Linked DNA regions of Homo sapiens: regions 2 and 3 are each linked to region 1. The links are contacts of gene promoters, found by promoter capture Hi-C in blood cells and fetal thymus (Javierre and others, 2016). All regions are on one chromosome and are shown on one strand. Each heading gives the region's core, a stretch centred on a gene start or on the middle of the fragment in contact. The rest is flanking DNA. Distances are from core to core; before and after follow the strand shown.

Region 1 (3,660 bases), core at 99-2,598:
TCTCTCCCTCACACAATCCATATCCAAACCTTCAACAGATCCTGAAAGTTTTGCCTCCCAAATAGATACAGAATCCAACCACTTATCATCATCTCCACCACTACCTCCTTGATCCAAGACATCACAATCCCTTAACTGAATTATTGCAATAGCCACCTAATTGGTCTTCTTTACAGTCTATTCTCACTACAGCATTCGGAATTATTATTTTTTTAATTTTGTCACATTATGGTGTTCCTTTGCTCCAAACCTTGCTCCAGTGGCTCCCCATCTCAACACCTATGGTGGCTTACGATGTTTGATCGGATTGCCTGCTTGACCTACTGTCTCAGCATTCTTCCACTCTCCCTCTGCTCCAGTCACACTATCCTCCTGACTTTTTCTCAACCAGGCAATGCTTCCACCTTGGGGCGTTTATACTTGCTGTTATATCTGGAACATGTTTATAAAGCCTCCGTTGAAGAGCACAGTGGCTTCTTCCATTAACTCATTTAAGTCTTTGCTGAAAAGTATCTCAGTGCAGCTTCTCTGGACGTTCTAATATTTCATCCCTCCAATCCCCACCCTGCCCACCACACTCCCTATCCGCTTTCTTTGCTTTTACTCCACATCACACACATTTACTTACTCATTGTTTATTCGCTTATTTCCCCTCACTCTATTGTGAATTCCCTGAGCAGGGATATTTGTTTCGTTCATAGCTATGTATCTCCGGTGCTTGGAACAGTACTGGTTTATAAAAAGTTAGTAGTAATGTATGTTAATCGAATGAATAAATTATCCTACAGAGATAATTGAGTGTCTCTGGATTACAGCAGAGCTTGCAGCAGAGAGGGAGACCACTCAACAGGCCGTGATGTCCAAATATAATAAGATGTATGAAACAGTACTGTAAAATTAGCTGCACAAAGGATCCGAAAAATTTGTTAGCTTAGTTTGTTTCTCCAGGAAGCCGTGCCAGGCTCGCCTCCCTCTTTCATTCTTTTCCCGTGATTCCCTCTACTGGGACTCCTGACCCTCCTAGTCGCCAGATCACAGGCCCAACGCATCCCTTTCCGGAGGGATTTAGGAAGTCTCGGCGTTGGTCCAGGAACGACAGTCCCACCGCGCCTCACATGGCGCATTACCCAGCGACTCCGCTTACCCACACGTCCCCGCCCCCTCAGCCGGACAGGAAGAGGAAATGACGATACCTCGGGCGCTCGAAACTCCACCTCTCACGCCTTCCCAGCTCCGGGAGGGGACGCGGGCTCCGGAAAGGGCGGGCATAAGGCTACGGATGGGCGGGACGGAGCAGCCCACCGCAAAGTGGCGGTCTACTTGAGGCGGTTACCTTAGTACTCCGAGTAGACTGAGTCTGTGGCGAGCTGCGGGCCGATTCCTGGCCAGTGCCATCTCAGCCGGAGCAGGCCTCGGGGCCTCAGAAGCAGGCTTTTATCTGGCCCGAGGCTCCCAGCCGTTCAGCGCGTCTTCCCATAACCTATACCGATTATTGGGACTCTCGGCTGCAGACACAGGTCCCCGCCCCTCCCTCTTTCTCCGGGTTGCAGCTGTCATTCCTCCCTTCCCGCCTCGCTGCGCCCACAGCTGAGGACAGTCTTCGTTCTCTCATTCCCATCCTTTCTCTTCCCTCTCATCGCCATTTCTTCTAGAAGGCAACTTAAAAACCTTTCTTTGCCTCTTTATTTCTTCCCATTTCTCTTCCCTTCTTTTCTTCCTTTTTCTCTAGAATCCGTGTGTTTCCACTTCATGCCAGGCTTCTGCCTCCAGGGCTTCTCTCCTTTTCACGGGCCTGTGGCTCATGTGTTAGGAGGTTGAACTTTTAATGCAGTCATTTGAAGATTTTAAGCTTTTTCTTTCTCCTAATCAGGAGTCACAGATGCTGGGAAGTATGGCCCGAAAGAAACCTCGAAATACCTCAAGGTTGCCCCTGGCTTTAAACCCCCTGAAGAGCAAGGACGTGTTGGCAGTGCTGGCTGAGAGGAACGAGGCTATAGTACCAGTTGGGGCATGGGTGGAACCTGCCTCACCAGGTAGTTCGGAAATCCCAGCATATGTGAGTGTCAGTTTGATCCAAATATGGTGGGGTTCCCCACCACCCTTTTTATTAGCCTTCTCTAATCCTGGGTGCTTAAAGATGAACAGTCCGAGGATGCTGTTTCTATTCTGCCATAAATAGTTTATGCTCTTGCATTAGGATTATAGAACAAGTATTTGCCAAAACTTGACTGCAGCTTTAGTTGGCATAATCAAATATTTATTACTCACCTACTATAATATATAGAGCATAATCTACATGGAACAGGTTATATAGATATATATCTGTATATCAGTTTACTTCAGACTCTTGATTGCTTGTTATGCCCAAGACATAAGCACTATCTACATCTTCCAGACACTGCAACTTAGTATGGATGATAGTTGGCATACTTCAAGTAACATTAATTGGTTGCTTAAGGTTTATGATAAATTTTGTAATGAGGATTCAGGCAAAATGGAGTAATAGAATAAAGGAGAAAGAGATGAACTCTGATAATCTGAGAAAGTCTAACTAGAAATTCCATGGTTTCTGATAGTCTTTCACCAAACTGTGCCCCTTAGCTATTTGTTCAAATTTAACTTGGCACTTACCACATTGTGTTATAGTAGATTGTTTATATATCTTTTCCTGATGCAGTGTGAGCTCCTTGAGCGTAGAGAACAAATGTCATTTATCATCACATTCCCACTTTTATCTTAAATACTGCCTAATCAATATAGACACTCATGAAGTATTTATGAAAGGCACAAAATGTCTTCTGTATGTGTAGACAAGGTGCTGAACATGGATGAAAAAAGGATGAGATATGTTCCCTCAGTGTACTTGATCTCAGAAGAGAAATGAGATGTGTTTAAATGTTAAAGTAATGCAATATACTATATTCATTTTATTTATGTTTGCACATATGTATGTATATTCATTGATTTATTCCTACCCTGCCTATTTCCAAAAAGGATTTTAAGAGTCTAGGTGGTATCTCTATCTAAGTTCTAAGAATATAATGCTCAATCAAGAAGCTATGACGTTGGGTTGATGTGACCCAGGAAAGTGTAATGAAGAATTTGATCGGAGAAGGGAAGGGAATGATTCTCCTATTAAGGAGAATGAGGAGAGTAAGAAGTAAGCAAGGTTCAGGATTCTAAGGGTAGATTAGATCGATTGGAGTGGAAAGCTTAGTAGGAGAATGGTTGCTGACAGGATTATGGAAAATAGGGATGGTAGAGTACCTTAGGAAATTTTGGAGAAGGGATTGACTTTGTTTAATATTTACAGGTGAATGTCATGATCAACCAGTGTTTTCTTTAGATGAATTGCTTCAAAGGTTTTGAAGGATAGGGAGTGATTGGATCCTGGGGATAAATTAGAATATAATTATAATAATTTAAGCATGGAGTATAGCATCGAAACTTTGTTAGTGGTAAGAAATAGAGAAGAACAGCCTTGAAAAAGGATGATTGAAGTGCTTGAGCCCACGAATTGTAGGCTGCAGTGAACTATGATCATACTACTGCACTCTAGCCTGGGCAATAGAGTGAGACCCCATCTCTGGAAAAAAAAAAGGAGTGGAATGAGAAGGGATGAATGCAGGAAACACCCCACAAGACTTGGTAAGATTTGGT
Region 2 (3,614 bases), core at 980-3,479, 370 kb after region 1:
ATCTCCATGGGTACAGTACTCACCTAGGTATGTATGGAAGGAATAAGAGAAATATGAAAGTCTCACAATCAAAAGCTTATGATGACATCGAGGGGAGATTAAGATTCACGCACAAAGCAGGGGCTCACAAAATTGAGTAAGATCAAGGGTCAGTAATAGGGTGAGGAGGGCAAGAGGCTGAGTTCATTCGGCTGCAGAAAGGCAGGACTTGAGCTGGTCTTTGCAGGTTGGATGGGACCTGGACAACAGAGGAAAGGGAAGCGTGGCAGGTGGGCCAGGGAACTCACACAGGGGGTGTGCTTGGCTGTGAGGCAGTGGCAGCCTGGACTGGCTGGAGAAAAGGTTCAGATTTGAAAGTAGTGGGGGATTAGGTAAGATTGGTAGGGTCAGGCTGATTATGAAGGGGAAGAATGGAAGCTAAGAAATATCAATTTTGTCTTTTAGGCCCTGGCAAGCCATTGTAGACTTTTGAGCAGAGGAGAAACACCATAAACAAGTCGATGAATTATTTTAGCTTCCAAAGAGCCCCTCTCTTTCTAGAGGATTGGCATCTGGTGTCTTTGAGATCAGCCTCATTGCCTTGGTGAAACTTGAGCCTTTCCCTGGGATGACAGTTGAATTTAACAGCCGATCAAGCATCATCAGGGAATGAGATCAGAGAATGTCACACTGTCAGGTCCAGCCCCTTGTTTATAGATGGCAATGGTGAAAACCAATAATGATGAGGAGGAAACAGAATTTAAACCGGTGGCATGCTTCATCCAACATCACAGAGCAAATGTGTGATGAAGCTGGTCCTGGCTGCCACACCTCCATAGCTCACCCCCGCCAGCAGGGAGGTGAAGCCTGAGGATTCACAAACATCAGCTATTAGGGACTGCTGGCGTGTCCGTGTAGGCAAACCACACTTTCATCACCGCACTCACGGAAGAAGAGGCCCTTGGTGGGCTCCAGAGTGAGAACAGATGCTTTTTTAGGCTCTTGGGCCAACTGGGACAAAAAAGCTTGGTGTTTTATGCTCCTGAGATAGATACCAGAGTGGGGGTAACCTTCCCAGAGTGGACAGGGGACAAGTCTTTAGTTTGGGTCTCTGGCCACAGATTCCAGAGGCTCGGTCTTCACTTATCCAACTCATCTGCAAAAAGCCTAAGCACAAGTTGGCAAAACAGGCAAAGGTGATCTGTGGGGAAGCCAGCCCATGTCCATAGACGGGTCCAGTAGAATGAACTTGGATAGGCAGAGAGAGGCCTGTGGGAGCTACAGTGCTGGAGGTGGGGAGGTCGTGAGGACAGAGGAACTTTATCTTCAGTGTGAAGCTCTTGCTTCCTTTCTTGTTCCCTGAACCATCCGGGTCATTGGGTCACACAGCCCCGTGTCTTCCCATCCTTCCATTTCTCTCTGACTTTCTGTCTGCATCTGTGGCTTGGCCCTGCCTGCTGTGCTGCTTATTAGCTTTCAGAGAGGAAGAGCTCTGCATGGTGACAAAAAGGAGATTGTTGGGTCCCTCTGCCTGCAATCTAGAAAGGGGCACACAGCTTGAGTGTGGAGGGCAAGAGGAGGGTTGGAGACTGGGAGGATGGCCGCGGCCATCAGGGGTCTCCTCCTCCCTGCAGTCCTGGCTCTCTGTCATGTGAGTGGTCCCCCTTGTGCTTGGTGGAATTGCTGGCAGTGACAGGAAGGAGATTACAGACTGTATTTATGCCTTGTAGCTTTCTGTAGGCTGTTGGGAAACAAATGGAACTCGGCAGTTGTCAGTTCTGGGAAGGAGAATTCCAAGTGTATTGTAGCCCTGAAGCGGTGCCCTGTGTGAGGGCATGCTGGTGTCACCTCTGATCGTCCTTCCTCTCTCAAATGTGTGTTTTATTCCCTGAGTGGAGAACAGGGTCAGCTTCTTTCCCTAATATTGGAGTGATTCCTCTCTGAGTTGTAGCTCCTCTGTGTCGTCTTGGGGTGGGGGCAGCAGAGGCTCAGCTAGAGCAGAAAGACAAGGAACACATGGCTATGGCAGGATGTCGAAGGGAGCCCTGGAACCCCAGCACCAGGAGGGACACAATGAAAGAGACAGAGGCTGGAGGCCACACCAGGCAGGCAGGGCTTCCTCCCCTCCCCAGCCCTGACCCTGGCCCTGAGCCCTGCTCTGGCCATTGTGGGATCTGGAGGCTGACAGTCAGAAGCAGCATCACACACACATTGTAGGTGGCAATTATTTCTTTACCTTCTATTTTGCCCACTAGACTGTAAACACCTAGAAGACAGGGAGAGAGCGGGGGAGAGAGAGAGAAAGAGAGAGAGTGAGTGAGAGAGAGAGAGAGAGTGAGTGAGAGAGAAAGAGAGACAGAGACAGAGACAGATAGTATGTGTGTTGTGTCTTTGATGCCCAGGCCCCAGCACAAGGTAGATTCTTAATATATGGGGACTAAATTGAAGCAATTTGTACCTTCCCAGGTACAGGGCAGGAAGGAGTAGTAAAAAGCTACCAAAGAACAGATCTGTCATTTACCAAGTCAGCCTCAGACACCCGGAAAAGGCTGATGTTAGCAAAGCTCCCAGGATTGGCCCACCCCACCACTCAGGGCACAGCCGCCTCTGCCTCTCCTTCCGGGAGTGCAACATTAATTTAGCACTTACTACTGCAGGCACTCTCTTTGGATTGGTAAGAAATAGAAGGGCAAAGAGAAGCAGAGAGCTTGGGAGAACAAAATGTCTGGAGTCAGAAGACACGCCACTTGCTGGCTGTTTTCTTAGGCAAGCCCTGTGCTTGACTTTCCTAAGCCTCATTTTCCACATCTACAAAATAAGAGCAACTACCTGGCAAGGGAAAGGCATCTCTCATACGCTGCTGATAGGATGTAAATGGGTATGACCTTCCTGCAAGTAATTTGTAAAAATTCCTTAAGACGAACACACCTTTGGACTTGGCAATTCCACATCCAGAAACTTATCCTAAGAAAATGATCAAGTCTGGAGCAAGAGTCCACTGCAAGAATAGTCATTATGTGTTTATAATAGCAAAAACTGGAAATAATCTAAACAACAAATGTGAAGAATTTGTCTGAGTAATTATAGTATACCCATAAATGGAATGCCATAATCATTAAAATTATAATATATTTTCCTCCTACATGAAAAGGTGTTTATGATATGTTGTTAAATACAAAAGGCTATTTAGTGAACAGTATGAAAATATGATACTGCTTTTAAAAAAGAAGCATTTTACTCCAAATATTAACTGTAGCTTATATTTGTATTGTAGGATTGCTACTAACTTAACATTTTTCCTCTTATTTGTCTATTTTTTACAAGAAGCATTTGCTATTTTTTAAAGGTAACAAAATCATCATATTAAAATACCTACTTTTAAAGGTTGTTTTAAGAGTTAAAGAAGATATTACACATGAAAGTACTTTGTGAACTGAAAAAATTATACAGATTTAAGATAGGACTTCTGCCCATGAGAAGCTTATAGTTTGGAAGGAGATGAAAGATATCTAAGATAACCATAGCATGAGACAGGATGTGACTAGAGCTTTCAGAGAATGACAAGCAGCATGTTATTTGGAAGCACAGAGGAGGAAAAATTACTTCTGGCTGTGGAGGTAGCAGCCAGAATGTTT
Region 3 (3,710 bases), core at 432-2,931, 420 kb after region 1:
TAGTGAGCATAGATCATGGTCTAGAAAGCCCTCCAGATGAGTGGTGTAACGAATAGTTTTTGGAAACCTAGGTTTGAGTCCCACCTCCACTGTGTCCTAGCCTCTCTGAGCTTTCATGTCCCGATGGAACCTAAGCAGCAGACTTGATAAGAATCAATGAGACGGCCCGTGGAGGCACCTGGCCCTGCGTCCAGCACCAAACAGAGGGTTTACTCTGTCCCACCAATGGGAACCATGGGTTCCAAAGCCCTTCTCACAATCCCAGGCTCGTACCCTACCCAGGCCAACCTGCAGGAGAGGTGGGTCACTGCCCCCATGGGAGCCACCACATGGATGTCACTTGAAGAATGGCCTAGACCTTTCTGCAATTAACACTTCTTCCTACTCCCCTTCCCTCCTGGGCTTTATCTTCTCCCACCGGGCTAACCACCCGCAACCCTTGGTGTTTGCCCAAAGTATGTCTGCAGCTGTCTGACCTGGAAGAGGGAATCCCAGGCAAACGCGGCTGCCCCAGCACCTCAGGACACCGAGCTGACAGCAGCACCATGCTGGCTTCCCATCTCTCTAGTCCTGCTGCTGCCTCCTGGCCCGGCAGCCCCAGGGTTGTCTCCTACAACCACATCTCACCCATTAGTACCAGCCGCCCTCTCTGCAGCCATTGCCCCGGGATGACCAGGGAGGGAGCTCAGCCTCCTGTAGGGTCGGGTAATTTTAATTAGATTTGCCTGCCTGGGGCAGCCTGGCTGCTCCAAAGCACATCAGGGAGTCGGCATTTTATGTCAATAAGTGTAACCAGACCCTTTCCATTCAGATGAGTGCCCCACACTGGCTTTTGGGAGCCCCCATCATGGCCCCTGCTAGAACCACAGATGAAGGAAGGGTGGGTGTGGCCCCTCCCTGCCTAGGACACTGCTCGGTGGCAGAGGGGCAGTGTGACAAAGGGGAGGGAGCCTGCCAGTGCCCGGGAGGTTTTATTTGTGTATGAGGATGTGTTAATGAAATGTACTGGTTCCCTTCTGATGTGGAAACTGTGGGGTGGGGGACGGAGGGCAGCGTCTGTCTTTAATTGGATCATACCAGAGCGTCATCTGGACTAATCAGCAAAGCAACCAGGGGCTCCGGCTCAGATTAATGATTGCAGTCTAATCCGAGCAGATCCCATGATTGGATGCACATCGCGGGTAATTGTGTTTGTGGCCCAGGAGCAGCACTGAGAGGGGGTCCAAAGAGGGGAGGCCGGTGGAGTGAGGGACCACAGGTTTGGACCCAGCTCAGTTCTCTCCTCCCCCAGCCCCCACCTCAACCCTGGGGTTTTCTCCCAAAGAAGTTCAAGCTTAGCTTGAACCACAAGCCCCACCCGCCCATGCTGGTGAGGAGTCCGATGTTAGGGGCTGCCTAAATCAGGGGATTAGGTTGCCAGCGGCGCAGAGGCAGGGCCAAGAGGGTGAGGTTAATCCAGCTTTCCCTCCCCCTCCTCCCCTCCAGTCTCCTTCGTTCCCCTTTGAAGTGAGTGGGTTCCCATGGAAACCATGGTGTCCTGAGGAGCGGAAGAGGGGCAGGAGCTAGGCCTGGCCAGGTGCGGGTGGGGGAGGAGGTTGGCTTTGCGAAGACTGCTCTGCTAAGGTGTTGGCTCACTTCCCTAAGGCTGAAAGATTCTCTCCGAGAACCAGGGACGCGGAGGTGCTAAAGTTGTTGCCCATTACTGATAAGGAAAAGCTGGGCTGGAGGCATGAGCAGTGAGAAGACAGTGAGGGCAGTGGTGCTTTGCCTTTCCATTAAGAACCCAGAGAGTGGAGCTGCAGGTCAGGGATAGAGGGTGAGGTGGCTTCCGGACTCTGCCTGTCTCCTTTGTGGCATTACTCACAATTGAATTAACTGTGTTAGCATTTGTGTCAACCTTATTTCTGTTTCCCCTGCTATACTGTTAACTCCAGAGGACAGGGTCTGCGTCTGTCTTGCTCATTGCTTTATCCCCAGCACCTTACATGATACCTTAGAGTCAGCAGCTTAGACGAAGTAGCTACTGCATCAAAGCTTGTTGGACGGCTTCATTAAATGGTTAGGGAGCACCCCATAAATATACCATAGTTCTAGGTTGATGTGCCGGCAAACGTCTCTCGAGGCGGGGAAGGGGAGCAGCTCCGATTCGTAGCATTTGCTGATCCCCGTGATGTAAATACTCATACCATGGCCCATCCCAAACCGCCCACCTGAGGGCACCGAGCAGTAGGGAAGACGTGAGGCTCTCGCTGCCTCAAAGCCCAAACCCCACCTAGGGAGCCAGGTTCCAGGCGCACAGTCTCTAGATTTACATGCGTAAGCCCATCTTACAGGCCAGTTCTTTAGAATGGTGTTACTGATACTTTTAGCTGCAATCCTACATTCTTGGTCCTCACTGTCCTATCTGGTCCACTCCTGGGTTCTAAATTTGAAATGTTCTCTCTTAATCAATGAACTCTTGGAACAGCACCTGGTGTGGATAGGTGTTTTATAAGTGTCTTCAGTGATGATTTTCCACCTAAATGCCAAGGCAGTCTGTCTCTTTCCATCTGCTTCAGCAGAGCCCCATCTTCACTCCAAACTTCTCCATCTTTTCCAAGTGGCTTTCAAGCCTTTCCTGGTCTATCAGCGAATGATCTCCTTCCTCGCAGCTCCAGAAACCCTGCTTCAAACCATTCTTCTGCCTCCTCTTTAGTTTCTTAGCTCTGAGAATCTTGCACTTTCCACACCATGTGTCTAGTTCATTCTGTCAGTCTCATCTCCCACACATCACAAGCTCAGAACTTCTACCCACATGGGACCACCAGAGAGCTCATGCTCAAGTCCAGCTCTAGTTCAATAAAAGCAATGTGAGCCCTGTTTATAATGCACTTGTTTCTGTCTCATGCAGACTGGATGGCAGAATCCACAGTTGTGTGGGGAGGAACAGAGCAGGACAGTAGGCAGTGTTCAGATCACTCCCTTGAGACTATCCTAAAGGTCACGGAAGTTCCCGGCATGATCCTGACAGCCCTATAGCCAGAGGTGCAAATGCAGCCATGGCCCTGTGTTGGGCAGTGGGAAATAGAATCATGCTCTAGAAATAGACTTGGTGAGAACTGGCTTTGTCACCATCGGCTAGCTCATCTCTCTGGGACTCTGTTTTCTCAACTATCAAAAAGAAAAATGATAATAGCTAGAATACAATAAGATAATAAATGGCATACAGATCAGTGTTCAGTAGACTGGGGTATTTTAAACAGAGGAGCCAGCATATGCTGCTTTGGCCCATTCAGGATGTGAAGTCTGGTACATTCGGGGGGACAGGATCGGGGTCACGAGCACAGCCTGGTTCACACTCTAGCTCCATCACTGGACACTAAAACTTTCTGTGACTCAGTTTCCTCATCTGTAAAATGGGGCTAAAAATAGTACCATCTCCTCATCTAGATTGTCATGAGGTTTAAGTGAGATAACACAGGTAATGTGCTTGGTAAAGAACCTGGCAGGTGGTCCACATTCTGTGGGTGTCAGCCGCTGTTGGATGTATTGGTGTCAGGCAGGAGCTTGTGAGCCAGGAGGTAAATGCTGAGAGGCGGCGCAGCAAGAGGCAGGGCTGCCAAAGGTTTCCAGTCAAGTGGTCTTCACTCTACAATTCAATTAATTATGAACTGAGCTCCAGCATGCGTAAGGCATTGTGGTAAATTCGGAAAGGGGTCCTGTGCAGGGAC

What was found. The method cuts DNA at HindIII sites, captures the fragments that hold promoters and counts their contacts. A CHiCAGO score of 5 or more calls a contact.
Region 2: a fragment that was not itself captured here is called in contact with the fragment with the promoter of CCDC15 in region 1 in 1 of 17 cell types (M0 macrophages); the score reaches 5.1 in M0 macrophages.
Region 3: a contact is called between a fragment that was not itself captured here and the fragment with the promoter of CCDC15 in region 1, in 3 of 17 cell types (endothelial precursors, M2 macrophages and M0 macrophages). The highest score is 5.8, in endothelial precursors.

What each region holds. Positions count from the first base shown.
Region 1 is chr11:124,952,854-124,956,513 of GRCh38, forward strand. It overlaps CCDC15 (coiled-coil domain containing 15), which reads left to right and starts at 1,349. Exons shown (of 16, transcript NM_025004.3): 1 at 1,349-1,517; 2 at 1,871-2,056. The coding sequence starts at 1,880. It overlaps CCDC15-DT (CCDC15 divergent transcript), which reads right to left and starts at 1,138. Exons shown (of 3, transcript XR_948134.3): 1 at 629-1,138. RefSeq lists an enhancer at 1,009-1,552. The HindIII fragment of the contact is 8,789 bases long and covers 1-1,847 here.
Region 2 is chr11:125,326,066-125,329,679 of GRCh38, forward strand. The region is part of intron 2 of PKNOX2 (PBX/knotted 1 homeobox 2); the gene reads left to right. Among named protein-coding and RNA genes, the nearest start is that of PKNOX2-AS1, 61 kb to the left of the region's middle. The HindIII fragment of the contact is 2,455 bases long and covers 1,003-3,457 here.
Region 3 is chr11:125,370,067-125,373,776 of GRCh38, forward strand. The region is part of intron 5 of PKNOX2 (PBX/knotted 1 homeobox 2); the gene reads left to right. Among named protein-coding and RNA genes, the nearest start is that of PKNOX2-AS1, 110 kb to the left of the region's middle. RefSeq lists enhancers at 1-83, 1,846-2,725. The HindIII fragment of the contact is 701 bases long and covers 1,332-2,032 here.